Linked DNA regions of Homo sapiens: all the other regions are linked to region 2. The links are contacts of gene promoters, found by promoter capture Hi-C in blood cells and fetal thymus (Javierre and others, 2016). All regions are on one chromosome and are shown on one strand. Each heading gives the region's core, a stretch centred on a gene start or on the middle of the fragment in contact. The rest is flanking DNA. Distances are from core to core; before and after follow the strand shown.

What was found. The method cuts DNA at HindIII sites, captures the fragments that hold promoters and counts their contacts. A CHiCAGO score of 5 or more calls a contact.
Region 1: a contact is called between a fragment that was not itself captured here and the fragment with the promoter of FBXO34 in region 2, in 9 of 17 cell types (fetal thymus, neutrophils, non-activated CD4 T cells and 6 more). The highest score is 19.8, in fetal thymus.
Region 3: a contact is called between a fragment that was not itself captured here and the fragment with the promoter of FBXO34 in region 2, in 1 of 17 cell types (fetal thymus). The highest score is 6.2, in fetal thymus.
Region 4: a contact is called between a fragment that was not itself captured here and the fragment with the promoter of FBXO34 in region 2, in 7 of 17 cell types (fetal thymus, neutrophils, naive CD8 T cells and 4 more). The highest score is 10.3, in fetal thymus.

The regions. Positions count from the first base shown.
Region 1 is chr14:56,467,349-56,474,355 of GRCh38, reverse strand. No RefSeq gene overlaps it. Among named protein-coding and RNA genes, the nearest start is that of TMEM260, 110 kb to the left of the region's middle. The HindIII fragment of the contact is 3,945 bases long and covers 1-3,450 here.
Region 2 is chr14:55,268,012-55,274,928 of GRCh38, reverse strand. It overlaps FBXO34 (F-box protein 34), which reads right to left and starts at 3,508. Exons shown (of 2, transcript NM_017943.4): 1 at 3,392-3,508. FBXO34-AS1 (FBXO34 antisense RNA 1) reads left to right here and starts at 2,851. Exons shown (of 2, transcript NR_184222.1): 1 at 2,851-3,047. RefSeq lists a silencer at 2,957-3,456. The HindIII fragment of the contact is 2,090 bases long and covers 1,986-4,075 here.
Region 3 is chr14:56,490,275-56,496,713 of GRCh38, reverse strand. No RefSeq gene overlaps it. Among named protein-coding and RNA genes, the nearest start is that of TMEM260, 86 kb to the left of the region's middle. The HindIII fragment of the contact is 1,437 bases long and covers 4,025-5,461 here.
Region 4 is chr14:56,579,403-56,586,051 of GRCh38, reverse strand. TMEM260 (transmembrane protein 260) reads right to left here and starts at 6,254. Exons shown (of 16, transcript NM_017799.4): 1 at 5,978-6,254; 2 at 1,020-1,051; 3 at 140-291. The coding sequence starts at 6,137. RefSeq lists a silencer at 5,967-6,186. The HindIII fragment of the contact is 4,901 bases long and covers 2,155-6,649 here.

The DNA.
Region 1 (7,007 bases), core at 229-2,728, 1.2 Mb before region 2:
TTCCCAAATGTTTTAGTACCTGCTAGGCATTAGCACTACACTGAGAGCTGATGATACTTGTCGACCAGAATATACACAGTTCCAGCTCTCATTGAACATAGGGCCTAGAGTGGGAATGATATTAAAAAGATAAATAAAGAAATGAACTTGTAATTAATTATTCATAGAATGTAATTACCTGTGGTAATTATATTGTATTTTTTCAGTTTCCTAGTACTTGAGAGTAACAGAAAATACTCAAGCATTTATTTTTCAATTGCTTGACTAATTATTCAGTTGCCTAGGACAGTACCTGGCACAAAGTAGGTGCTTAGTAAAGAGCTGTTAAGTGAGTGAAGGAGTGTAATTACAAATCTGAGATACACATGTCCAGAACATGACTGGAGACAAGTTTCTAATGAAGGAACATGACCTGGGTCTGGGAAAGTGATGTAGGTCTGAAGGATGAGTAGGAGGTAACTAGATGGCTGTGTATGTGTGTGGATTGGAGGTGGGGAGTCTCTGGGCATACAGTAGACCATGAGTAAAGGCCCTGTGACGATGGTGGTTGTGGGGTAGGGAGGGGGTGGAGAGGAGGCATGGGAACATGTCTTGCTACAGGGAACTAAAAGACCAGTGCGGCCTCAGCACAGGGAGTCAGGGGGTTGAACAGTGATGCACAACATAGACTTTGGTGTAAAGAATGAGTAGGAGAGGGACGAGAGTGGATTTGGGTAGAACAGGTGGGAAGCTGTTGCAGTCCAGGTGAGAGATGGTGGTAGCTTAGACTAGGGGGTGGGCTAATGGAGTGGGAAGTTGTCAAAGTCACCCGATGGGAGCACATGATTATATACAGACTATAGAGTGTGAGGGAGAGAGGAGCTCCAAGGATTACTGACTTGTGCAATGGGGTGTGGTAGAAAGGAAATTCTGGAGGAAAACCAATTTGGGGGAGGAGGGAAGATCCTAAGTTCTATCTGAAACATTCTGAGAATTTGAGACATCCTAGTAGAAATATTAAGTCCATAATTACATTGAAGGGACAGAGCACAGAGAGGTCTGGAGTGGAAATTGATTTGGGAGCCATTGGCATGTAGATGACATTTGAAAAGAAAAGGCCTGGTTGAATCCACATATGAAGAGAGTATAGGGAAAGAAATGGGGACTAAGACTAGCCTTGGGGAACTCACACTAGGTGCCTGGTGGAGAAGGATGGCGGCAAACAAAACAGAAGTAGCCAGAGAAGAAAAGAGGAGAGCCAGGAAAGAGTGTGTGAGTGCAATGGACAGAACTCTGGACACAGGAAGACCTTTCTCATGTTCTGAGAAAGGTTGGCATCTCCATCCTCCACCACAGTCCTTCCATCCAGCCTGTTCATTCACCCATTTAACTGTGGCCCTTGCTAGCTCCAACACAAATGTCCTTGGCTCTTGGTAGAGCCAGTCCCAGGAAGATAATGTATTTTGAGCCACCAAAACTATAGATCATGGCAAATAGAGAGCAAAGAATAATGACATGGACATTGGTGGAAGAATTTATTTACAGTTCCAAAGAAAAAGACCACTGGACTAAGAGTTAGGAAGCCAGAGATCCAATCTGAGCTCCCCCACTGGCCTGCTGTGCCAGTTTAGGGATTTCTCTGGCTATGCTTTATTTCAGTGTTATCATCATTAAATTTCAGGGCAGGAGACTGTGGTGGGTGGGTGGGCAAAGAGAAGGAAGAAAGTAAGAGAAAATAATACACACTCTGCATAATAATAAGCTCCTTATAAAGATCTTATGAGATCAGGTGTCTAAAAGTGCCTTGGAAAACATATAACATCAAATACTTTCCTATATGATAAAAGAATTTTAAAAATACTCTCATAAAAATGGAACCATGCAATTGATAAATCTGGAGAGTTTCCAGGCATTTATTCCTAAAAAGCTGTGTGAATGCCTTTTATCTCTTTCTATCCTGCTGCTAGCACCATATCCTTTTCTAACTAAAAATGAAAAAAACGAAATAAAGAAAAAAACTTCTAAAATCTGTTATTGATGCAAGGAAAAGGATACATATAGATTTTTAACAATATAGATTCAGGACCACCCAAGCTAATGGATTCCAGGCCAGACAGCAAAAACAAAAGGATTACCACTAAACCCTCCAAACTGTTTTAAAAGCTGGGGAGGATAAGTGATGGGAACATGGCGGGCTAGAGGTACCAGGCACCAGACCCTCCACCAAGAAGGACCAAAACAGCAAGAAGATAACCATACCTCGAACAGAACTTCAAGAGAGAACCCCAGAATTGAGCAAGAGAGTGACAGAGCACTTCTGAGGCTTGTAAGGAGAGGGGAGCGAAGCATCCTGAAGCCAAGAGAAATTCCCAATGGCAGGCGAAAGATAAGTGAGAGATCCAAAGTGGTCCACATTCCCACAGTGAACTCTGCAATCCTGGCTATGGGAAAGCCCTTAGGCCCCTGTGGGCCCTGAGACTAGTATGGGAGCTGCTTGGAGGCCACATAACGGCATTGTTCTGCGGGGGGATTTTGTGCTGGGTCCCAATCCCCCTCCCCTACCCAAGCAGTTGCAGCACAATAATATTTTGAGAGCGCAGCCCTCACCAGACTCCATCCTGTCCTGGCTGCTCACAGCCCCTGCATCTCCATATTCCCAGCGCCACACTGGGATCTCTCATGTCCACCTGAGAGCTACAGTACTGCAACTGTGGTGAGTCCCAGTGGCACAGCTCTGTACCCAGCAGTCTGGTCAACACAGTGTCCTACCCCCCAGAGAACAGGTGCAGTGCACCACGGAGGCTGCCCCTGGGACCAAGGGAGCCAAAATGTGTGCCCCCCAGAGCCTGAGAGCCTCCTGCCCTAGGCTGCGGTACTGACACCAACCCTAGCCCCTCCAGGAGCAGAGCCACCACACTTCTGCACAAGCTGTCAGGATGCCTGGGGATTGGCCCGCCCCAGCTACTACCACCAGCTCCCATGCACATGCCATCTGGGGTCCTGGGGATAGGCTCACCTGCTGCCGCTACTGGAGCTTGCACACACTGTCCAGGGACAGGCCCATCCTACCCGCTGCTGCACCCCTGGACCATGCTCACCCAGCCTGCTGCTGCCGCTGCCAGCTCCCATCCGGGGACCTGGTGACTGGTCTGCTCAGCCTGCTGCCACCACTGCTGGCACCCATGTGAGTGACCCAGGGGCCTGAAGGTTGGCCCCCCACTGCTACTGCCACTGCTGACGCCATATGCACATCTCCCAGGCGCCTGAGAACACACCTTCCCAGCCCACCACTGCAATTGCCTGCACCTAAGCAAGCCGCCTGGAGGCACAAGGATGTGCCTGCCTGGACCTGCCACTGCCAGTGCCAGCATACACCTCCCAGGCCTCCAAGGACTGGCACACCAGGCCTGCCACTGCCACCACTGGTTCCTAAAGACTGGCCCACATGTCATCCCCATCCCCAGCAAAGCTTTGCCTCAGGCTCCACTGCAGCCTAAACCACTGAGAAAATCACAGAAGTCACTGAGGCGGATTATAGCCAAAGAAATCATACAGAGACTATAGTATTGCACCCACCCAGAATCAAAGCCAAAGCACCCTGGCTGACCAACCTTGTAGAAAGCTCTTTCCCTGTGAAAGCCTATCCGTAAAACTGGGAGCAGTGCTGTCACACCAGATGTGAAGATATCACCCTAAGGAAACAAGAAGCATGAAAAAGCAAGGAAACATGACACCTCCAAAGGAACACAATAATTCTCTAGCAGCAGATCTTACAGAGAAGGAAATCTATGAAATCCTTGAAAAAGAATTCCAAATATTGATATTAAAGAAACTCAATGAGCTATGATAAACACTAGATACGAGAGAAGGGGCTTCAGTGGCTGACTGGAGGCACCAAGCACTGGCTTCCTCCACAAAGAAGAAATAAAACGGCAAGTAAGTAATTACTCTCTCAATAGAGCATCTGAGAGAGAACCTTGGAATTCAACAGAGAAGTGACAGGACACACCTAAGGCAAGGAAGGAGAGGGAAGGGAGGCAGTCTGCTCTGCTAGGATCAGCTAGGAGCCCAAGAGTGAGGAACCTACTGTGAGGAAAGGGTAGAAGAGATCCTCAGTGGTCCACCTCACTACTGCCAACTCCTGCAATCCTAGACAAAGAAGAGCCCCACTCCATCCTCACGGATCCTGACACTAACACAGGGAGCTAGCTGCCTGCAGACGGGGCTATGGCATTGGTCCAGCAAGGTAGCTCACGCTGGCTCCCACACACCACCCAAGACCTAAGCAAAAAATACATGGTGCCATTTTGAGAGCCCAGCCCTCACCAGACTACATCCTGCCCTGGGGCCAAAGAGGCTTGCACCTCCCCATCCCTGGAGTTCCATTGACACCCTGTGCCTGCAGCAGCTGCTGTTGCTGGCTGCTGCAATGGGGGCTAAAGTGAAAGCCACTGATAGCAACCTCAGCACCCCTGGCAGGGGGGCTGTCACACATTTGCAAGTTCCCTGAGGACAGAGTCCCCCATGGGCAGCCATTGCTGCCAAGTGCCTAAGCAAGTCCCACTTGCAGTGACCCCATTCCACCTTGGTTAAATTTGCTTTTGTTGCTTGTGTTTTTGAGATCTTAGCTATAAAATCTCTGTCTAGACCAATGTCCTAAAGTGGGTCTGCTGTTTTCTACTGGAAGTTTTATCATTTGGGATCTTACATTTAAGTCTTTAATCCATCTTGAATTGATTTTTGTGTATGATGAAAGATAGGGGTCCAGTTTCGTTTTTCTGTATATGGCTATCCAATTTCCCCAGCACCATTTATTGATGAGACTGTCCTTTCCCCAGTCCATGGTCTTGGTGCTTTTGTCAAAAATCAGTTGACTATAAATTTGTGGGTTTATTTCTGGGGTCTCTATTCTGTTCCATTGAACTATGTGTCTGTTTTTATACCAATACCCTGCTGTTTGCATTACTATAGCTTTCTAATATATTTTAAAGTCAGGTTGTTGGATGCCTCCAGCTTTGTTCTACTTGCTCAAGATTGTTTTTGTTATTCAGACTCTTTATTGGTTCCATATGAATTTTAGGATTCTTTTCCCTATTTCTGTGAAAAATGACATTGGTATTTTGATTTGAATAGCATTGAATCTGTAGACTGCTTTGGGTAGTGTGGTCATTTTAAGATCACTTCTTCTGATCCATGAGCATGGAATGTCTTTCCATTTGTCTGTGTCCTCTTCAATTTCTTTCACCAGTGTTTTGTGGTTTTCCCAATGCTGAAGTCTTTCACCTTGTTAATTAAATTTACTTCTATGTATTTTCTTTATTGTAGTTATTGTAAATGGGATTGACTTCTTGATTGCTTTTTCAGCTAGTTTTTTATTGGTGTATAGACATGCTACTGATTTTAGTAGGTTGCTTTTGTATCCCGCAAATTTACAGAATTTATTTATCAGATCTAAGAGTTTCTGGTAGCGTCATTAGGTTTTCTAGATGTAAGAGTATATCAACAGCAAAGAAGAACACTTTGACCTCCCCTTTTCCAATTCGAATGCCTTTTATTTCTTTCTCTTGCTTGATTGCTCTGGCTAGGACGTTCAGTACTATGTTGAACAGGAGGGATAAAACTGGGCATCCTTGTCTTGTTTCAGTTCTTAGATGAAAGGCTTTCAGCTTTTCCTCATGCGGTATGATTTAGCTGTCGGTTTGTCTCAAATGTCTTTTATTACATTGAGATATGTTCTTTCTACGCTTGGTTATGAGTTTTTATCATGGAAGGATGTTGAAATTTATCAAATGCTTTTCCTGTGTCTATTGAGAGGATCATATGGTTTTTATCCTGCATTCTGTTGATAGGATGTATCATGTTTATTGATTTGCATATGTTGAGCCATCCTTGTATCTCTGGAAAAAATCCCACTTGATTATAGTGTATTTATTTTTGATATGCTGTTGGATCGTTTACTAGTATTTTGTTGAGGGAATTTTTGCATCTATACTTATCAGGGATATTGACCCATAGTTTTTGTTGTTGTTGTTGTTGTTGTTGCATCCTTGACTGATTTGGTATCAGGGTAATGATGATCTTGTAGAATAAGTTAGGGAGAAAACCTTTTCATTTTTTTGAAATACTTCCAGGAGAATTGGTGTTAGGTCTTTTTTGTAAGTTTGGTAGAATTAGGCAGTAAAGCCATCCAATCCTGGGCTTTTCTTTGTTTGCAGACATTTTATCACTCATTCAATCTCATACTCATTACTGGCCTCTTCAAGTTTTCTATTTCTTCCTGAATTTTAGTAGACTGTATATGTCCAGGAATGTATCCATTTTTCTGTAGGGTTTCCAGTTTATTAGTGTACAGTTGTTCATAATAATCTCTGATGATCTTTTGTGTGTCTTTGGTATCAGTTGTAATGTTTCCTTTTTCATTTCTAATTTCATTTATGTGGATTTTATCTTTTTTCTCTTAGTTTGTTTAGCTACTTGTGAATTTTATTTTTTTCAAAAAAACAATGTTTCATTGATCCTTTGTATTATTATTTTAGTCTCTTTTTTGTTTAGTTCTGCTCTGGTCTTTATTATTTCTTTCCACTAATTTTGAATTTGGCTTGTTCTCACTTTTCTAGTTTGTTGAGGTGTATTGTTTGATGGTTTATTTGAAATCTATTTTTAATATAGGGGTTTATTGCTATAAACTTCACTCTTAGCATTGCTTTTGTTGTATCCCTCAGGTTCAGTTATGTTGTGTTTTGATCTTCATTTGTTTCAAGAATTTTTTTATTTTCTCCTTAATTTCTTTCTTGATCCAGTGGTGATTCTGGAGCTTGTTGTTTAATATCCATGTATTTGTATGGTTTCCACAGCTCCTCTTGTTATTGATTTTTTTCTAGTTTTATTCCATTGTGATCTGAGAAGATACTTGATATTTCAATTTTTAAAAATCTGTTGAGATTTGTTTTGTGTCCCAACATATGGTTTATCATGGAAAATGTTTCATGTGTTGGTGAGAAGAATGCGTATTCTGCAGCTATTGGATG
Region 2 (6,917 bases), core at 2,259-4,758:
GCCTTTGTCACACATGACCTAACAAGGAAGGCATTCATCATACCATAGTAGCTTCCCTCAAGTATCTGGTTCTAAACAGCTGCAAATTTTGGAAGATAACACTAAATGATGTCTCTAAAGATAAGTATGTTTTCTCCCAAACAAATATTAAAACAAGATTAAAGTTACTAGAACATAAAAACTGTCAAATTAAGCTAGCTGAACATAAATTAAGTTTAAAAAATAAAGTAAAAATTTTTAAGAATTTAAATTCTAAATGTTAATAAAATAACTGATCCAATAAACATATCCTGAGGAATTTCTACAATACAGCACTCTCATCTTGACATTTGCTTTTATCCATCAGAAAGATGGATAACGAATGACTGTTTAATTTAGTGCCTTCAAATTATATAAGTGAATAAAATGACTTAAAATAATAAACCAATCTCAAAATTAATTTCCATAAAACCATTTATATGAAGTAAAAGCTGCTTCCCAGACCCAAAACTGGAAAGCATGGGTGAAAAAGATCCTGCCAAAAATAGAAACAGACTGTAAAAATGTTTCACACGAGTTCTGGCTTGTTAGATAATTACACAACACTCACAAGCTGGCTTTTTAAATATCTGTCGTTGTCCCTCAGTCACATCAGTATGCACTATGACATTTATTCTTCACCTATTAACTCATTTTCCATGAGGAAAAATAAAAACTTCCTAACTGCTAAGCAAAATAGAGAGGAAAAATGCACTGCCGAATAGCAGGTATCTCCTTATCAGCTGCAGGTCTTTCAACTCTTATTTAGTCTGACTTTCATCCTTTCCCATTAATACTAGCACACCTGGCCGAGAACGGTGGCTCACACCTGTAGTCCCAGCACTTTGGGAGGCTGAGGTGGGCGGATCACGAGGTCAGGAGTTCATGACCAGCCTGGCCAACACAGTGAAACCCCGTCTTTGCTAAAAATACAAAAATTAGCCGGGCATGGTGGCACGCACCGGTAGTCCCAGCTATTCGAGGGGCTGAGCCAGGAGAATCGCTTGAACCCGGGAGGCGGAGGTTGCAGTGAGCCGAGATCGCACCACTGCACTCCAGCCTGGGTGACAGAGCGAGGCTCTGTTTCAAAAAAACATACAAAAAAACTAGTACACCTAACTTACATACAGCCGTGTAGCCGGCCCCAGAATCGCTACCGCTCGGGAAAGACACATGCAAGCGTCCATTTTGGACCTCCTTCAATTGCATTACATAGTATCTTGCCAAGATTCTTTCATCTTAAAGGTTGACTAACACTCTCAATATCAGCAGTTGCATAATAATTCAAGTGCCTCTCAGTCTCTGGTGATCCAAAGGCTCAAATGTGTATCTTTCATACAAAATTTTGTATACAAAATTTGTACATACGAAAAATAATTTGTATACAAAATTGTATCTTTAGAGACTTCACTCAACACTGTCAGCATAAAATTCCTCATTTCTTAAAAGAAGGAAGAAAAAACCAGAACAACTTTCAGTAGCGCACACAATGCTGTCAAATTCCCAAGGTTGTGGTGAGGATCAAAATAACATGTACAGGAAAGCCTTGTTTTGTGAACTTCCAGTCAAATCCAATAGTACCTAACGGGTAAATTTTTGCTTTTATTTCCTGCCTGAAAATGGGCATAACTTCCATCTGCATGTTGATGTAAAACCCAGAGAGACAGTATCTTATCAATCACCTCTAAAAGGCAAATGGGGAGCAGGAAGTATTGAGAGAGAGGAAAAAAAAAAAACCGTACCATTACAAGTCAAGGTCAGTGAGGAAGGATTAAGGACTTCTACCCAAGCTTCCTGCTAAAGACTAACTATGCTTCAAGTTTAAGCCATCTACCTTTTGAACTAGATTCCATTTACATTATTCTACAGAGGAGGAAATGAAAAGTACTGATATGCTGGAATACCCGAAGAGGGTCACTATGACAAAGTGACTAGCTTCTCTTCCAGTTAGATCTCTTCTGAAAGCTTTGGAAGAAAAACAGTATTCACAGACAAATCATTTTTTTATTCTCTAATTTCATATTTAAAAGCACTACAGACAAAATTTTAGTTACCTATCCAGACAAGCGGTCCTGGAATATGTTTTTATATTAAGTTATAGCCGGGTCTCAGTAAGAAAGCAAGAAAACAGCTTGTTGCTGACTTCTAAACCATGGTAGCATGGGGTGGTAGCATGGTACCATAGGGTGGGATAGGGACAACCTGGATAAATTAACTCCTCAGGTAATTATTATTTAAGACAAATGTTGGATTAATTCAAACTCCTCCCTCCCTTTACAACAGAAAAAAAAAATCATGTAAGATCCACTCTCCCTCCTCCTGGCCATTTTCTAACAAAAAATGCTAACAAGCAGATAGATGTCCAGTTAAAAAAAAAAAAAAAAAGCAAACTGATTTATCAACACTAGAAGTGGTTCTCTTTTTTTTCAGTAATTCTGATTGCAAACTATCAAACTACGAATTTAGCTTCCTAAAAGGCTTTTTACATTACACCCTCCAAAAAACCTCCTACCCTGACTTAAGTTTTTCTAAATCAAATGTCTTATACTGAGCTGTACTCGCAACGCTTGCTGGACAAGAAGTTAAAGAAATTGACAACTATTACATTAAAATTGCAAAATGCTGATACCGAACAACTTTCGATTCAAATCCACTGCGATTCCAAGCGTTCGTGGAAGACAACTTCCTTTTTCTACCCTGCGGGTCCCCCCGGCCCTTCCGTGAGCCCAGGTCCCCGCCCGGGCCTGCAGTGACATCCCAGGACCCATCTTCTGACGTCACAGACACACGGACCCACAGCCCTATGACTTCATCGTGGACTGAGGACGAACCGCAGTCGACTTGCGCCAGCCCAGAGGCTGGGGAGGCGTCCGAGCCTCCGTCCCGCCTCGTCGTTGAAGAAGGTTAAGGACAAGCGCCAGCTCACCTGCGCTGGGGCAGGGAAGGGCAGAGTGGCCGAGCCCGGGAGGGCGCGACAGGGGCGAGGCGACCCCAGTCCAGAGGCTGACTTCCTCACCGCCCTGGGTCCCGTAAGTGGGAGCGCCGGTCCGGTGCAAGCTCACGGCCTATCCGTGAATCTCCTCGGCTTCAGCGGGGACCCAGGACCCCGCTCCCTACCCGCCCGACCCTCCGTGGCCCGCGGGGACGCTCAGCGCCCGGGCCGTGCGCGCGGAAAGAGCCGCACCGGAGGAGGCGCAGGCGGCCGGGTCCCTACCCCGGACCCGCGGGCGGCGCCCCCGCCCCCACCCCCACCCGCCCCGCGCCCCGGGAGCGCAGGCAGGCGGCGGTAGGGGGCGGGGAGCGGCCACGGTGGCCGCCGCCGGACCCCAGTCGCGCGGCCCTCGCGCCACGCCCCACCTCGGCCCGGACCCACCTGCGCTCCTGCCCCGGCCGCGGCCTGGCCCGGGGCTGCACCAGCCCGACGCAGTGGTGGCGGCAGCAGCGGTGGCGGGAGGCCTGGCTCACTCCCCACCGCTGAGTCGGACCGAGCACCCAGCGCGGCGCGGCGGCGCCCAACGCTCGCCCCGAAACCCATTTGTTTGGCTAAAACGGAGTGACGTCACGCGCCGGCCCAATCGACGGTTGGCCGGGGGAGGGGCCACGGATCCAGAGTTTCACGGCGCCCCCTGCCGGACACTGGGGGCGGGAAGGGGGAAGTGAAAAGGGAGACCTGGATGACGCGTCTGCGGCCCCCAAGTGGTAGAGAATGAAAGTTTGAGCACGACTGTAGGGAAAGGAATCAAACCTCCCAGGCCAGCCAAGAAGGGTAGTGACGCCAGGGTTCAATCAGCAGACATGTCAAGTTTATGAATATTCGTGGGTGGACCTGAAGCTGTAAATGGTCTCAGATACTATTAGATAACCTAGTAGACCTGGATCCTCATACTGGTTCTGCTGCTAGCTTGGAAGGCTGGGGTTCAGAGTTTCAATTTGTAAAATGACAAAATTGGAAAGGTCCCTTCTGACTCTCTTTCCTATGAAAATCATGGCAGGGATACCGGTCAGAAAGTAGATAAACGTTGAGGCTGACACGAAACTGTTAAAGTCTGTAGAAGCTTAAGGGCTGGTTAATGATGGATATAAATTTTTAACACTTTATATTCAAATCAGAGGGCCAGTGAGGAACTTTTGATTCCCAATCTTTAAGCTTATTATTGTTTTCATTGTGAAAATAATATTAACCACATTGAAAAACATGAGGACAATGTATTTTCTTCTAGACCTTTTGCCCCATCACATATATTTTACTACACTGTAATAGTAGTTGTACGCGATTTTGCATCCTCTTTTCACTTTTATAAGCATTCCTCATATTTCCACATAAGCTTCATAACCAGTTTAACAGCTGCATAAAATTACATTAAGTGGACATAAAATTTACTGCAGTAATTCTCTATTTTTGGACATAACTTGTTTCCTTCATTCACTTTTTGCCATTATAAAGAAATCATAGAACATCTTCATGAATGTAGATTTTTAAAGATACCCAAAAGTGAAATTACTAGGTGAAAAAGACTATCAACACTTTCACAGTTACTAATACAAACTGCCAAATGATTTTTAAAAGGTTGTACCAAGTTACACTTAAACCAGCAACTTTGATTTTAGCCAGTCCTTAACAAAAATAATTTTGTCCAATTATAAAACTACTGTTGTAAAATATATGTGTAAAATCTTAAATATTAAAACGTAAAAACAAAATAAAAATATTTCCCATAATCTCATCACCAAGAAATAACCACTCAGTATCTCCATCTAGACCTTTATCTATATACATATTTTTAATAAAAATTGGAGAGGGGAAGTCCAGGCACGGTGGCTCACATCTCAAAAAGGAAAAAAAAAATTAAGGAAGGGTGTTATATGGTACACCGTGGCATCAAACTGTATGTCTGATTTAATATGTGAGCAATATTAGCTCAATATATCATGATCATTTGAAGCTTCTTTATGTCATAGTTAGCTCAAAATTGTAAAACTTCAGTTTATCCTTTCAGATTCATCTCAAACACTGTCCTTCTTAAAACCTCTTGATTCCTTCTGGGCATGGTGGCTCACGCCTGTAATCCAAGCACTTTGGGAGGCCAAGGCATGCAGATCATTTGAGGTCAGGAGATCAAGACCAGCCTTGCCAACATGGTGAAACCCTATCTCTACTAAAAATACAAAAATTAGCCCGGTGTGGCAGGGCACGCCTGTAGTCCCAGCAACTTGGGAGGCTGAAGCAGGAGAATCGCTTGAACCTGGGAGGTGGAGTTTGCAGTGAGCTGAGACCACACCACTGCACTCCTAACTGGGCGACAAGAGTGAGACTCCATCTAAAAAAAAAAAAAAAACAAACAAAACTTGATTCCTGTTGATTAGAGGACTCAAAAAATTGATATAAAAATGAAATTAATTTTAAAAGACATAATAAAAGCCCGAACTATTAATTATTATATTTTTTCATCTTTTTCTTGAGGCAGGGTCTCACTATGTTGCCCAGGGTGGTCTCAAACTCATGGCCTCAAGCAATCCTCCTTTCTCAGCCTCCCAAATAGCTGGAATTACAGGAGTGAGCCACCATGCCTAGCCTATGAATTATTGATTATTAAAGTCCACAGACATAAAATTATTCTGTCAAATTGCTAGTAAAGTTTCTAAAATCTGATTCTCAATTTCAGTTCTTGTCTCAGATTGGCCAGTGAACCACACTTTAAATAGCCCCAGTCTAGGAGAAAAGAACTAGGAGAGAGCATAACCATGTTAGGCAAGAACTTCCCTTGATTTTGTTTCTCCATTTGTATAATGGCAATGATCCCCTAGAAGCAAAGCCAGTAGAGCCAGTATAGTTTATCAACCCACAGGTCCTGTGGTAGGTCTTCAGGAAGGTGCTCCCCAGGTGGGCATGGGGTGGCACATTGAGGCCATGGGACTGGTGAGAGCCGAAAGAAGAACAAGACTGAGGTGGCACAGCAGCAGAAAAGTTCTAAATATATATAGTATATATATTTGGTTATTCCATTAGTAATTAAAACTTAGTTGTTTCAAGCCAGCAAACATATTAATTAAAACTCAGTTCAAGGGATTTGTCTTGTATAGACTTGGTTTCATTTCTGTTCTTTGCTCAGAAAAAAAAAAAAAAAAAACTAAGAACTTACTGCTTATTCCTTAATAAGCTTACTCCAACCTCCAAATAAAAACACCCACTGCTATGGTTTGAACGTGTCCCCCAAAGTTTATGTGTTAGAAACTTAATCCTCAATGCAACAGTGTTAAGAAGCGGGACCTTTAAGAAGCAATTAGGTCATGAGGGCTCCGTCCTCATGAATGGATTAATGCCATTATCAAGGGAGTGGATTACTTATCAAGAGAGGGAGTTACTATAAAAGCAAGCTTGGCCCTCTCTATCTCTCACTCTGTTAGGTGTTCTCTTGCTCTTCCACCTTATACCATGGGATGATGTAGCAAGAAGCCCCTCAAGAGTTATGAACCCCTTGACCTTGGGCTTCCCAGGCTCCAGAACTGTAAGAAATAGATCTCTGTTCTTTATACATGACCCAGTCTCAGGTGTTCTGTTATAGTAGCATAAAACAGACTAGGACACCCACCATTTCATCTTCTCTCTCTCACCCCCCAACCCTCCTTATCAAACTTACTTCCCCGCTGCTGGAGAAAGGAAACCAAGAGACAGGCTCCATTAGACTTTGCATCTAGACCTACTTTGCTGCAGAACCTAGGCCGCTGGGTGTGATAATGCCTTTCCCTACCTACTTGACTGTGTTATTATAAAGACCAAATAAGAAAAGAGAAGCAGAAGTGCTTTTAAAAGTTTCAACTTTGCAAAAGTAAAGCATGTACTTAAAAAATATGCCTGGAATGTGGCCGTTGGAGCATGCTTCAAGCCCTGAGCTTATGCC
Region 3 (6,439 bases), core at 3,494-5,993, 1.2 Mb before region 2:
AAAAACTTAACAGAATTAGATAGCAATAATGGTCACGCAAGCCAGAATATATTAAAATCCACTGAAATGTATACTTTATAGGGTAAAATTTATAGTGTGTAAATTATATCCCAATAGAAGAATAAATAGGTGATAAGTTAGAAATCTTTCAAATACATTATAGAACACATATGACCTTACTATAAGTAGGTCTTCATGCTTACAAGATTGACATGCAAAACACACAGTGTTCCCAAGCTGATATTCTGTGATGTTTCCTAGAGGCGAGGGATTTCATTATCACGAGGTTGTGGGATATGGAGCTGTCTACATATGTGCGTATACGGAGCGAAGAAATTTCCCAACTTCATTTGTGTAACATGGTTCATTTTGGTTCTAGGGTAGTGAAATCACCTGCAAATAAGGAAACTTTGAACTGATAAAACCATATAATTAAAGATCCAAGACGCAGTCACTAATCATAATGCTTTTCTGAGCAGCTACCACGTGCCAAACACTTTACATGTGTTATGTCATTTCATATTCAACATACTCCTCTGAAGTTACTGTTATTGTCATATTTCACCAATGAGCAAACTGAAGTTTAATGAGGCTAGTTAACAGGCTAACTTGTGTTGCTCTTTAGTAGAATGTGATAATGGCAGAGTCAAATCTCCAAAGCTTAGGCTCTCCCAATGAAACACTGCCTTCCCAGAGATGGCCCATGAGGGAGGGTGATCTCACTTCTACATTTGGGGAGCTGGGGTAGGCAAACAAATGGAGCTGGGGTAAATAAGGGCCTGGCTATACAGGAAGCCAGCACACACAGGTAGAAACACCAGGCAGAAGCATCTTCACTTTGAGACAGGGCACCTCTTCCTTAAGAAGTGTGTTCTTTCACAATCCCCAAATAATGAAGTTTTCTCTGTGTGTGTTTTATCCAGAAATACTATTTCTTAAGGAATTATAGCATGCAGCAAAACTCGCTGAGGTTCTCACTGATTCAGTTGGTGTTTATTAAGTGACTACTACGTGCCTGGCTCTGTGCCCAGTCTTGGGGACATAAACATGAATATGACATATATGAATAAGACTCCTCAAGGAGCCCAATCTAGTGGTGAGCAAAGATAAGAAAACAGACAGCTACAATTCAGTGTGATACATGCCAACACAGTTTGTCATGAGGCCAGAGATGGGCCTGCTTAACACTGAGAGGTAGAGCCAGGAAATGCTCATGAAGATGAGTTCAGTAGAAGCCTGAGGATGAGCAGAAATTCACTAGGAACATAGCCCTGGGTATAAGGAGAAGTTAGTTCAGAAGAGAAAAGGAGAAAAGGAGGGGGAGAAAGGCATGCACAGCAAGGGGAACACCTGCAAACAGTGATGGAGCCCATTGTGTTTCCATCCCACACCACCTGAAGACCACACTTCACAAGCCAGCAAGTCTGGGATGGCAAGGGCTTGTGACAGACACTGTGAGTTGTCTACCCAATAACTCCCTTCCCTTCTTGTTAATGGAATCCTAATTTTGTTTGTGATAACAAACAGCCCGCCCTTGGAGATGAACCGTGACTGGTCACGTCAATCCTTTTGCTCTTAGACGACACTCATTTTCCTAGCCTCCCTTAGAGCTGGGGGTGATCAGATGACCCAGTTCTGGTCCATGAAATGTAATGGGAAAAGTTTCTCCTTTCCTGAAAGAAGGGGCAGAATGGCTGGCACCACCTCTTTCCCATTCTTCTTGCCTCCACCTTAAATATGATACCTGAAATAATACCATGAAACAATAAAAACTAAAATCCAACTTACTGAGAATGAAGGACAGAAAAGACATATATAACCTATGTCCTTGATGCATGATAGAGCAGTTGTTATAACCAGAAAATCCTCCTGCATAGGACTTCTTGTCATACAATAATCTCCCATTTTCAAGCCATCATTGCTGGACATGCTGTAAGTAGTGATCAAAAGCATTTGTACATGATAGAACTTCCAGCTAAAAACAGAGAAGTAGTCCTCTCCCTATTCCTTCTTTAAAATTCCTCTATCAACAGCTTTTCTCAGTTTGGTGCATAGGTTTCATTCTTGACTGACCAGCTCTGTGGATGTCCTTCCTAATATCCATTCATTCCCAACTCTGGGGAGTTACAAAAAGAATGATGTCATTTTGCCCTGGCATATTCAGGATAATGCGGTGTCCATGGCAGCCATTATGTTGTATGAGGTCCCTGGAGCCACGACAGATAGTAAATGACTGTGGTGGAGATGGCACACGATCCTGGGGCCATGCACATGTCAGGCTGCAATTACCAGAAAGATTTCAGCTTTTGCTCCTGGCAGAGGACCTTGTTTATATTTGTCATTGGCACCATTGCTTCCATCACTGGGCCAAAAGCTTATTAGCCACTGGAAGTTGGCAGAGGTGCATGGACCAGAGCAGCTGACTGTGACATGAGGAACTGATATTCTTGCAGTCTTAACAGTGTCTCCACTGCAGCTTTCTACTGGCCAAATTTGTGAGGACCCACCTGTAACAAGGGGCAACTGGCTATCTTTAGTCATCAGCATCAAATCCATCTTCAGCCCGAAAGACAGAAATAATTTAATCCTAGACTTGGATAGATTCGGTGAGTTTTTTCTTTCATGCTCTATGTAAGAAAAACCCACAAAGAAAGCAGCCAAAAATGACTTTTACCCCTGAGTTGAGATCACCTAGATTTTATTCATCAGTGAAAGCTCCGAGAAACGACAAAGCCTTGTGAAAATACACACAGTTGTCCCTCAGTATCCACTGGGGATTAGTTCCAAGATCCCTGCAGATACCAAAATTCAGGGATGCTCTAAGTCCCTTATATAAAATGGCACAGTATTTGCACATAACTTTTACATCATCTCTAGATTACTTATAACACCTAATAAAATGTAAATGCTATGTAAATAGTTGTACTGTATTTTTATTTGTAGTATTTTTTATTGTTGTTTTGTTATTTTTAAAAAACATTTTCAACCCATAGTTGGTTTGAATTTGCAGATGCGGAACCGGCAAATGGAGAGATGACTGTATACTTTCCTCTGTGAATAATAGGGACTTACTTAATGTAAGATCATCATCTTTAGGAGATGGTGGGCTCAGTAAGGGCAGAAGCAAGGTTTTTTATTTTAGCATCTCCCCACAGGACCTAATTTGATGCTCCCTCTTTGTAACTGCATCTTGTGCTGTTTTCCTCACTCTCTCACTCATCTCTCTTGCCTCTCTCATCTCCACCTCTTGCATTTTTTCTTCTCTGGGAGGCTCCATGTCCTTTTACATGGAGATTAATTTAGTTTACCTGGGCTTCTGCAATTCTGCATCTCTACCTATTACCCTCTAAGCACAGCAAAGGCTGGCTAGCCAAGTAGTGCCAATAAGGTTTCTCCTTAGAAGATGAGGGAGGGAAAAGGTTATATTTGTACCTATATCCATATAATGCCCATAAATCATAATATCAACACATTCACTCTCCCACTTAAAAATCTTCTGTACTCTCTTTGCTTACCAAGTAAGCTCCCTTCCCTTCCCCTGATTTTCAAGGTCTTCTGTGACCAAGACCAATCTTCCCGAAAAAAGGGTTTCCCAATATTGGCACTATTGACATTTGGGGCTGGATAAGTTTTGTTGTGGCAAGCCATCCTGTGCATTGTAGGGTATTTAGCAGTATCCCTGGCTTCTACTCACCCGATGTCAATAACATACCCTCACCTAGTTATAACAACCAAAAATGTCTCCAGACATTGCCAAATGTCCCCTGGGTGGCAAAATCTCCCCTGATTGAGAACCACTGCTTTAAAGCCTTATCACCTGCTACTTCCCATACTAGGCCTGTACTCTATCTATATCGGACACACTCAGAGTGATCTTCCCTTCATACTTCTGCTTATTCTCTTTCTCTGGTTTGCGATGCCCTCCCTTTCACCACCCAACTCCATCCACCTAAAATCCTACTCAGTCTTTTATGGCCAGTCTTTACTCCATGAAATATTACCTAATTTCCTCTTAATCAAAGCTTTAGGCATTTGTCCTTTGAATTCTCAATAACGTTTTGTTGATACCTCTCATAACTTTAATTCTGCATCATTTCCATTTGACTCCATGAGTATAATAACTATTTTGTAGGTGTTCAACAAGTGAGTGTTTGCTAATGCACATACATATGTGTGTTTTTGTGGTTGAAAATTGGAACACGGGTGTAGGAGATAATGTTCTTTCACCTCCTTGAAGGAGGCCAGAGGGGGGTCATTCTCATGCCTTTTGCATCCTTCTTCCTGAGCTGCTGGTAATCTATTGTACTAGATGTGAGGATTCAATAGACCCTGCCGTACTCAACAAAATTTAAGGAAATAAGCAAAAGCTGATCTTATTTCCTTCTGTGATATGGTTTGGATTTGTATCCCCACCCAAATCTCATTTTGAATTGTAATCCCCAATGTTAGAAGAGAGGCAGGTGGGAGGTGGTTGAATCATGGGGGCGGATTTCCCCCTCGCTTTTCTTGTAATAGTGAGTGAATTCTCATGAGATCTGGTTGTTTTAAAGTGTGTAGCACCTCCCCCCAACATCTCCCTTCCTCCTGGCCACATAAGAAGAGCCTACTTCCCCTCCCCCTTCTGCCATGATTGTGAGTCTTCTGAGGCCTCCCTAGCCATGCTTCCTGTATAGCTTGTGGAACTATGAGCCAATTAAACTTATTTTCTTTATAAATTACCCAGTCTCAGGTATTTCTCCATAGCAGTGCAAGAACGGACTAATACATCCCCCAAAGCCCATGGTAGGTGCCCTAAACCATTCTCATTGTTCCTAAGTGCTGAGAAAAGTTGAGGCCACTCTCCTACTCCAGCAAAGCCCTGGAAATGCAAAGGTCCCAGCCTCATCTGACCAATCAAGATCCCATGGCCATAGGCACTCACACTGAGAAGCCTTTCTGCCACAGTAAGTCATGTCAGCAACATTAAAAACAAATTTAAGGTTTTTCTAGGGAGGCTCAAACTTTTCCTTTATAAGTCACTTGTCATCTCTGGCGACAGGACAGCTAGAAACTCATAGATTCCAGGAGAGCTTTCCAGCTGTCATGGTAACTGACCCGATGTGGCGCTGAAACTGTCCTCATAGCTAACCAACCATTACAGTGGTCCTTCGCTGGATCGGGGGGTGACCTCAGGAAATTCATTTGGAGTATTTCTCCACTGCCATCTTGAGGTCACTGGGAATAGTGCATCCTCCTTCCTTTTGTCATTGAACAGACATGGGCCTGAGGGATTTGCATGCTCTCTCTGCCTCCCATGACAGGTGCTGCAGCAGGCTCAAGAAACAGCATTGCCCTTATCACTGGAGCTTAGTCACTCTCGCTGTTCTTACCACGAGGCAGACCTGTCAGCAGGAACATGGATGTCTTAGCACTCAATGACATATCCTAGACACACCATGCTGCTTACTTTAAAAGAAAAGCTTAGGAAAGAAATGGAATTATAAAAATAAAAAAAAAGAAAATCTCTTTCAGAATCCCTACTCCCATGAGATGTCCAGGGTTCGAACTTTAAAAAGCAAAAATAAGAATAGTGGCCAAGAAATACATTTTTGTGTATGTGTGTAAAAGATGGATAAAATAAGGCATTGTTTAATTTCCTTCTGACTTCCCAAACAATTTCATATCATGGACATGAATGCTTTCTCATTTTATATGAGTTTTTTTTTAACCTGAATAATACAGAGTCTATTTAAAACTATTTTACCACTTATAACCCTGGAAAAAACTTCTTTCTCCTGGGCAGTGCCTGGTGGTTGGTTTGAAAAGCTAGTGGCTCCTTTTCAGAGTGTTTTTCTTAAATAAATGTCTGTCACATTAATGATTAAAATCAATTAAGCTCAATCATACACCTGAATCTAGCTAGAAGAGAATAATTCAAATGTTCCTAGCATAAAGAATAAATATTTAAAGTGATGGATATCCCAATTACCCTGATTTGATCTTTACACATTATAAGAATGTATCAAATTATCACATGTACCCTCGAAATATGTACACCTCATATATATAAATTTTAAAAATCAATTAAGTTCCTTTTGGAAGAAAGGGACACTGATTTCCTCATTCTAATTAGGTGATGTATTGCCCTCTAGCGGCATGATATGATAAATAGTGATATAAATCCAATGCAGGATGAATTTGCCTCCATTCATTCAGTGGGTTATTGAACAGCTACTCTGTGCCATGTACAGCTCTGGGCTCTGCCCGGGTACAGCAGCAAAGAAGATAAGCCAGTGTCTTCACTTCAAGGAGCATATATTCTAATGGGGGGATACAGAAAATTAAAACTTAAATAAGAAAAATCTTAGTGATATATGCCCTGGAGAGAATTAAAATAGAGTTATGTGGAAGACAGTGGTTGAGTAGATACTTTAGATTGAGCCATCTAGGATGTCCTCCC
Region 4 (6,649 bases), core at 3,356-5,855, 1.3 Mb before region 2:
TATTATAAATTAAGAAAGTGAAATCACATGTGTTAGGGAAACCAAGCAACAAAAGATTTTTTTAATGTATGTACTTGAGCCATAAGAAATCTACATCTCCAACTGCTCAAAATTAATTTTAACTAATCAACTACTTTACCTGAAAACGGTGAAAAAAAGTAATGATGCAGCTACTGCTCCAAATAAGCCACAGAGAAGATTGACGCGGTAGGCAATTGAACCAAAAGGAAACAGTGTAATTGCCAGTTTAGCCACCAGCGTGAACAAAGGATAGCCAGGAGGATGGGCAACCTACGGAAAAATTAGCAACAGTTAGAAGGTTTTCATCTAGGAAAGGAAGAGTCCCACAGGCCTTAATTGAAAAGTAGCCCTTTTCTCAAGCAGCTATAAAGATTAGGCACCAATGACTAAATGTTTGAATAGTGGTTTTCTATTGTAATCCTCTTGAGGCAATACAAATAAATATTTTCTTTAGTGGATTTGGCAGCGTCTATCACATGGTGCGTCACCCAGAGAAAGGGTGACATATTTCATTGTCAGTTCTTAAGCAGTTTGTTCTCTGGGTTCACAGTACATTAGGGTCATTTAAAAGGCTATTGAAAAAAAGCAGGTTCTGAAATATCGTATTGGTTAGAAAGTTGAAAGACCACACTGCTATCGGATTACCACCATGCTGACAGTCGTAAGGTCTTGCCTGAAGGGATCATGCACCATAATAAAGTTTATTAAATAATAAACTTATTAAAACTGTTAACCCGATTTATTTTATTCCCCACAGCTTATACAAAATTTGGGGTGATAATAAGGCAGCTACTGTATATATAGTAAAGGCTTTGCTTTATAATTTAGTTTAATTGGATTTAAAACTTAAAGTAAATTGTCACGTACTGTACTTATAAGTTACTAAAAACGGGGGTTTGAAAATAAATTAATCTACTTTACTCCATGCTTAATTAAACTTTCTTAATTCCTAAAACTGTTAATGAGAGCATTGATTAAACAATAAAACTAATACTTACTCCAAGCTCATGTGCGGCTGTGATCAGTTCCCCTGTGAAAAAATAATGTAAAACCAATAATTACTATTAGAGAATGACACTCCTCCAAAGTTTTCAAAATCCAAATGCTTGCATTGGGGTTTTGCATTAATTTGACTGGATAAAACTGTAAATCTGTAGAGATTTAACAGCATGAAATAGTCTAAGAATATTTTCTCCTTTAGGTCTTATTGAACAAACTATCTTTGATAGTCTTTAAGAAGTGGTCAGTGGAAATATAGGTACATTCTGGTCTTTAAAAAATGCTTATTTTCCCTCTTGAAAGTTGTATCCACTTGCAAATATACAAATACTGTTGGAGCATTAGTGTAATATGCTTTATTATCCCTCAAGAAATTAGCACGAAAGTCTATAAAGATACAACCTTATAGTAAGGTAAAATGCGCAGACATCTGAGGTTTGGACACTCCATAAAATGTCCCATACTACCCTAAAACTGGCATTTGGGTATCTTCTCCACATTAATTGCACTGGATATCTTTAAATGATTTCCAAGTGTTTATTAACTCCACGTTATTTCGGTAAGGTTCACTGTAAGACATTTTTTCAAACCATTAAATAATATTCTTTACATAGTCCTTTATAGTTCCTCACCATTAGTGACTATTTCTAAAATTATGATGCAGTAATTTGATGCCTATTTGTTAACCTTTTACGTATTCAGAGCACAGGGACTATTTCTGACTCATCCCTGTACATTGTAGTACCGTACAATGTAAGGAATCAATATTGATGAATGACTCATGAAAGTTACTAGTACCTATTAGGAAATGTACTACTGTCCACTTCCTATCCTTTCATAGATAGCAATACTCTGCATTTAATTTCTGTCCCAGCTACAATTTAGACCTTTACTCTCTCTGGCCTGGACTATGGCAACAGACTTGACCAATCCTACTTCAATTCATCTTCATACTGAAATCACTTATAATCAACACCTGCCTTCCCCCATGCCCCTAAACACATACACACACACACACACACACACACACACACACACACAAAAGGCTGGATTGCATCCCTAGTCTAAAATTTCTCAATGGCTGCTCTCTGCTTACTGAACGAAGTTCAGATTCCTCAGCATGACGTTCAAGCTTTCTATGGTTTCAAGGTCCCTTTTCTAGGCTTATATCCATGAAACCTATGTTCCCTCCAGTCAAATCTTATTACCCACTGTTTCTCTGGAGTGGTCCTCTTTTGCACCTCTTCTCACTCATTTTCTCACCCTGGAATATTTTCCCTAGCATTCTCCCCCTAAATCCTTCAAGGCCAAGTTCAATTGCCACCTTCTTGGTAACCTTTCCTTAGACACCTGCTTCCCCAGCCTCCCCATCAGAATTAATCACTTCTTCCTCCTCCATAGAACCTGCTTGAGTCTATTTAGCACTTTAGATGGCCTTATATTCTGGTTGGTTTTCATTTCTCTCTCCCACTAAGTTTAAAAACATTATCCTATCCATTTCACGATCGTGCCAGGATACCACCACCTCTCCCCTCTGGCCACACACAAAGCATCAATTCAAGCCATACACACAGAGGTTAACAAAAATACACATCACATTGTCATCCTTGCTACTAAGACACCCCAGTCTTAGGTGACTGCATCATGGAAGCCTTATAAGGGCACCTGAAGACAGATTAAGTCAATTACTTAAGGACATTTGTTAAGAGATATTCAAGAGCACCTGAGAAACCAGCACATTTTATATCCTAAATGCTTCTTTTTAAATAGTTTATGGTCTCACAATGTCTCAAACAACTGTTCCCTTTGTTAACTACTGTAAAGGATATGATTTTATAGTTTACTCCATAATGGATTAGCTCTTAAGTCTTTAGCTCCAAACTATTTTCGATTTTTTTGTTCCTGTAATCTTTTTGTAACGAAGCCACCATAAATTCAAAATTTCAAAGGTCACTATTCATTCTCCTCCATTTAAAATGTATTCAGAATTACATTTAACATTAAGAAAAATAGGCTGTTTTTCTCTAACTTCTTTTTACCATGGAAAAGTCAGTGTGCTGTTATTATTTGCCAGACTTCTGCTGCTATAAAGATAAATCTGGAATGTGACAAACTTTCATCAATTCTTATCAAATGTTAAACTAAAATCGAAATAGAAAAGATGTCCCCATTCAACGTCTCTAAATGTAACCTTGATAAAGATCTAAAGGGAAATACTACTCTTAAATTGATTGTGATAAAGAGGAAGGGAATAGTAAAAAAACCTCGAGCTTCCCGAGTCTTGGCTTTCTCCCAACCCTTTACATGAAAGGTTCCTCAGTTGTGTCTACCTGCATCAGAATTAACCTGCTTTTTAAAAATGAAGATTCCTTGCCCACACCTCCAAATTCCATAATCTACTAAGACCCACTTGCACTGGGGGCTCAAGTTTCCCAGGTAATTCTGAAGTACGTTCCTGTCTGAGAACCACGGCTTTGTTGTCTGCAATACAAACTAATGGCAAGCCCAGAGTTGTCAGCAGATGCTTAACCTTTACAAAAACCAGCTCCCTTTATATCATACTTCTCAATATTAATTAGACTAGACTGTCACACATCACATCTGTTAAAGACAGTATCTTTGAAATAAACTCACGTACAAACTAATTTAGTGAAGGCCAGATTCCTACCCCCTCCCCGAAAAGCACCACAAGCACCCTGCCCATAAATGAACTGTGTGTGTCAAGTGGTACAAAAAATAATTTTGGCAAGACGACACAATGTGATGAATCTATGGAGTAAAATGTAAGACTTATCAGGAAGAAGAATACATGCTTTATACTGGTTTTGAGATGTGTTCTGTTTATTGATGAAAATATAATTCATAAACATTCAAGAATAGTGCATTCAACATGTAAACACAATTATCAAATATACGATAAAGCAAATTTTCCATATTGGCATATACTTGGAAAACAGTTTATCATTCCCAAAAATGAACATAAAAATATTAGAAGCAACCACTATTTAACATCAAACCAAACAAAATTAAAGCACCTAAAGTTTGGTAACTCAAGGTGAATACACAACTTTATTCTTTTAGGAAAAAATAAAATACAGTATTAATAAAGGCAAGGCAATAATCATGATTTTAAATAAATTTTAAACATCACTACATATGTGATGGTGGATTTAGAAAAGAATTTCATGAAATGTTTTGACGAAAAGTAGAGGTTAAGGGGGCATATTCTGAAGTCAATATACTTTTCTTTTCCTGATTTCTCTACTTTGTGTGACTTTGGGCATAGCTTAGCCTTAGTTTTCCCATTTATAAAAGGAAAATAATAATTGCACCTACTTTTAAGGGTAGCTGGGAGGGTTAAAACAACAACCCATATAAAGCACTTGGAACAGTGCCTGGCACATAGTAAGTGCCCAACAAACGTCAGTTATTATAAATCTCACTCCCATCCTTCACACTCAACCAACCATAAGTAGCTGTCAATCTTTTTATTTTTTTACAAGTAACAGAACTACCTAACCTCTGAATAATGCTCTCCAGCACCAAAACTCACAACTATAAAGTTACTTCCATTATGAAATACCAATCTTGGTAACACTGTACAGAAACTCCCTACTACACGAATGAAACACTATCCCTACTTGTGCAACAGGACCTGAAAGAAGAAAGGTAACAATTTGAAGATGTAACATCAAAGATCTTCAACGTGGTAGGCAGCCCTAAATATGATCCCCACTAATCCCCAAGTCCTGATATTCTCACCTGTGTAATCCTTCCCCCTTGAATATGGGTTGGGTTTACTGACGAAGTTCCAGGAATAAAATGCAGAAGTGGTATATCACTTACAGTATTAGGTTACAAAATGACAGAGCTGTCAGACAGAGAGGTGTCCTTCATCTTTTTCTTGACAGAAGTCAGTTAACTTATGGAGACCCACATAGCAAAGAACTAGATTGCGTTTCTCCCCAAATTGAGCCTTGAGAAGACCGCAGCCCCATCGCACACCATGACAGCAACCTTTTTCTGAGTACGAGCATCTAGCTTAAACGGCACCCAGACTCCTGATTTACAAAAACGGGAGACGATAAACGTTTGCTGTTTAAGCTGCTCAATTTGGGGATCACTAGTCATGCAGCAAAAACTGCTTCTTCAGTCCATAGGTTCACCACCTGAAATTACAGCACTATTCTGACAAAATTACTGGCCATGATATGGCATTATTGAATCCAAAAACAAAACATGGATCTTGTTTCTTGCATCAAATACAAAACAATTAGTGTGATTTAAGGGCCAATGAGTCATGCTTTTCTTTTTCATAGAAACAGCCGCACCTGGCTTCCACCTTTTTAAGAGTTCTCCTGCAAATATTCTGCATGGCTAGTTCCTTCTCAATATTCAGGTTTCAACTAAAACACCACCTCTTCAGAGGTCTTTCCTGAATAGTCATTCGGAAGGACCCACTACTTACCCCCACTCTCAATCATATTTCCCTCCTACTGTCTCCATAACTTATCACCAGTGAATATGCTGTTTATTCATTAACTTGTGTATTGTCTAACCGCACTGGAACACTAGCAATTATCTGTTCGCCACTACTGTTCTTTTGTTTGAAACATAATAAGGACACCGTGAATAATATCTGTGGACTAAAAAAGACTGAAAGTAAATACTCAGGACCAGGATAAAAGATCTGGGGAAGTGGAGAGGTCGATAAGCCCCACCAGGCGAAACCAACAATACGCCCCATCTCGAAAACCTGAGAACTAAAGAAACCACAACGACAGGAATGGAAACAGAAGTGGGCTCTGGAACACACAATAGTGCGCTGTGCACAGGGGGGTGGATGGAGGCCCAGAGCTGACCAGACCGAATGCCAAGAGCAGGGGCCAGACGCAGACCCTGCCCGTTCTGGGACCAGGGGAGAGGGACAGAAGGGGCAACCCTGCGAGTACTTTACCGGAGTCTCCCCCCGGTACCGAAGGGGGCAGGGTGAAGGTGAACACTGCGGCCACGGCGGCGAACACCGCCACGCCGCCGCGGATGCCCCCGGAGCGCCGCAGCCCCACTCGGACTGCCCGCCCCTGGGCCTGGCCCCTGCCGTCGCCATGGGGACTCATGGGCCAGTGGCGACCGAGGGAGAAGGACACGGCCAGCCCAAGAACCCGGTGCGACACGGAGCTCCCCAGCCGAGAGACGAGCGCAGCTTGTGCGGCGGCCACGGCGGCTTCCGGGTCGAGCCTCCGCGGGTTGGACCGCACCTTTCTCCGCCTGAGCGCGGGGAGGAGAAAATGCCAGGCCTCCCTTGAGCCAGGCCCTGCGAGTTTTCCCGCAGTGCACCACGCATTGGCGTTCACCTACTTATAATGTGATTTAAGGTTCCTAATCACCAGGAGAGCATTCCCTTTAAAAAGCAAGCCCGGCCACAGGCCTACCTTCTCCATGGCTATTCCCCCCTTTTATACTGACTTGGTTGGGTCTGACAGAGACCAAAGCAGCGTCGAAAACCGCGAGCGAGGAAGGGCTGCTCCTGCCCCCTACGGTGCGGGGTGGAACTGCACAAAAGGGCCACGATCAGCCAGGAGCCCCTACCTGTGCTAAAAAAAAAAAAAGGGTGGTGTATTTACCGTAT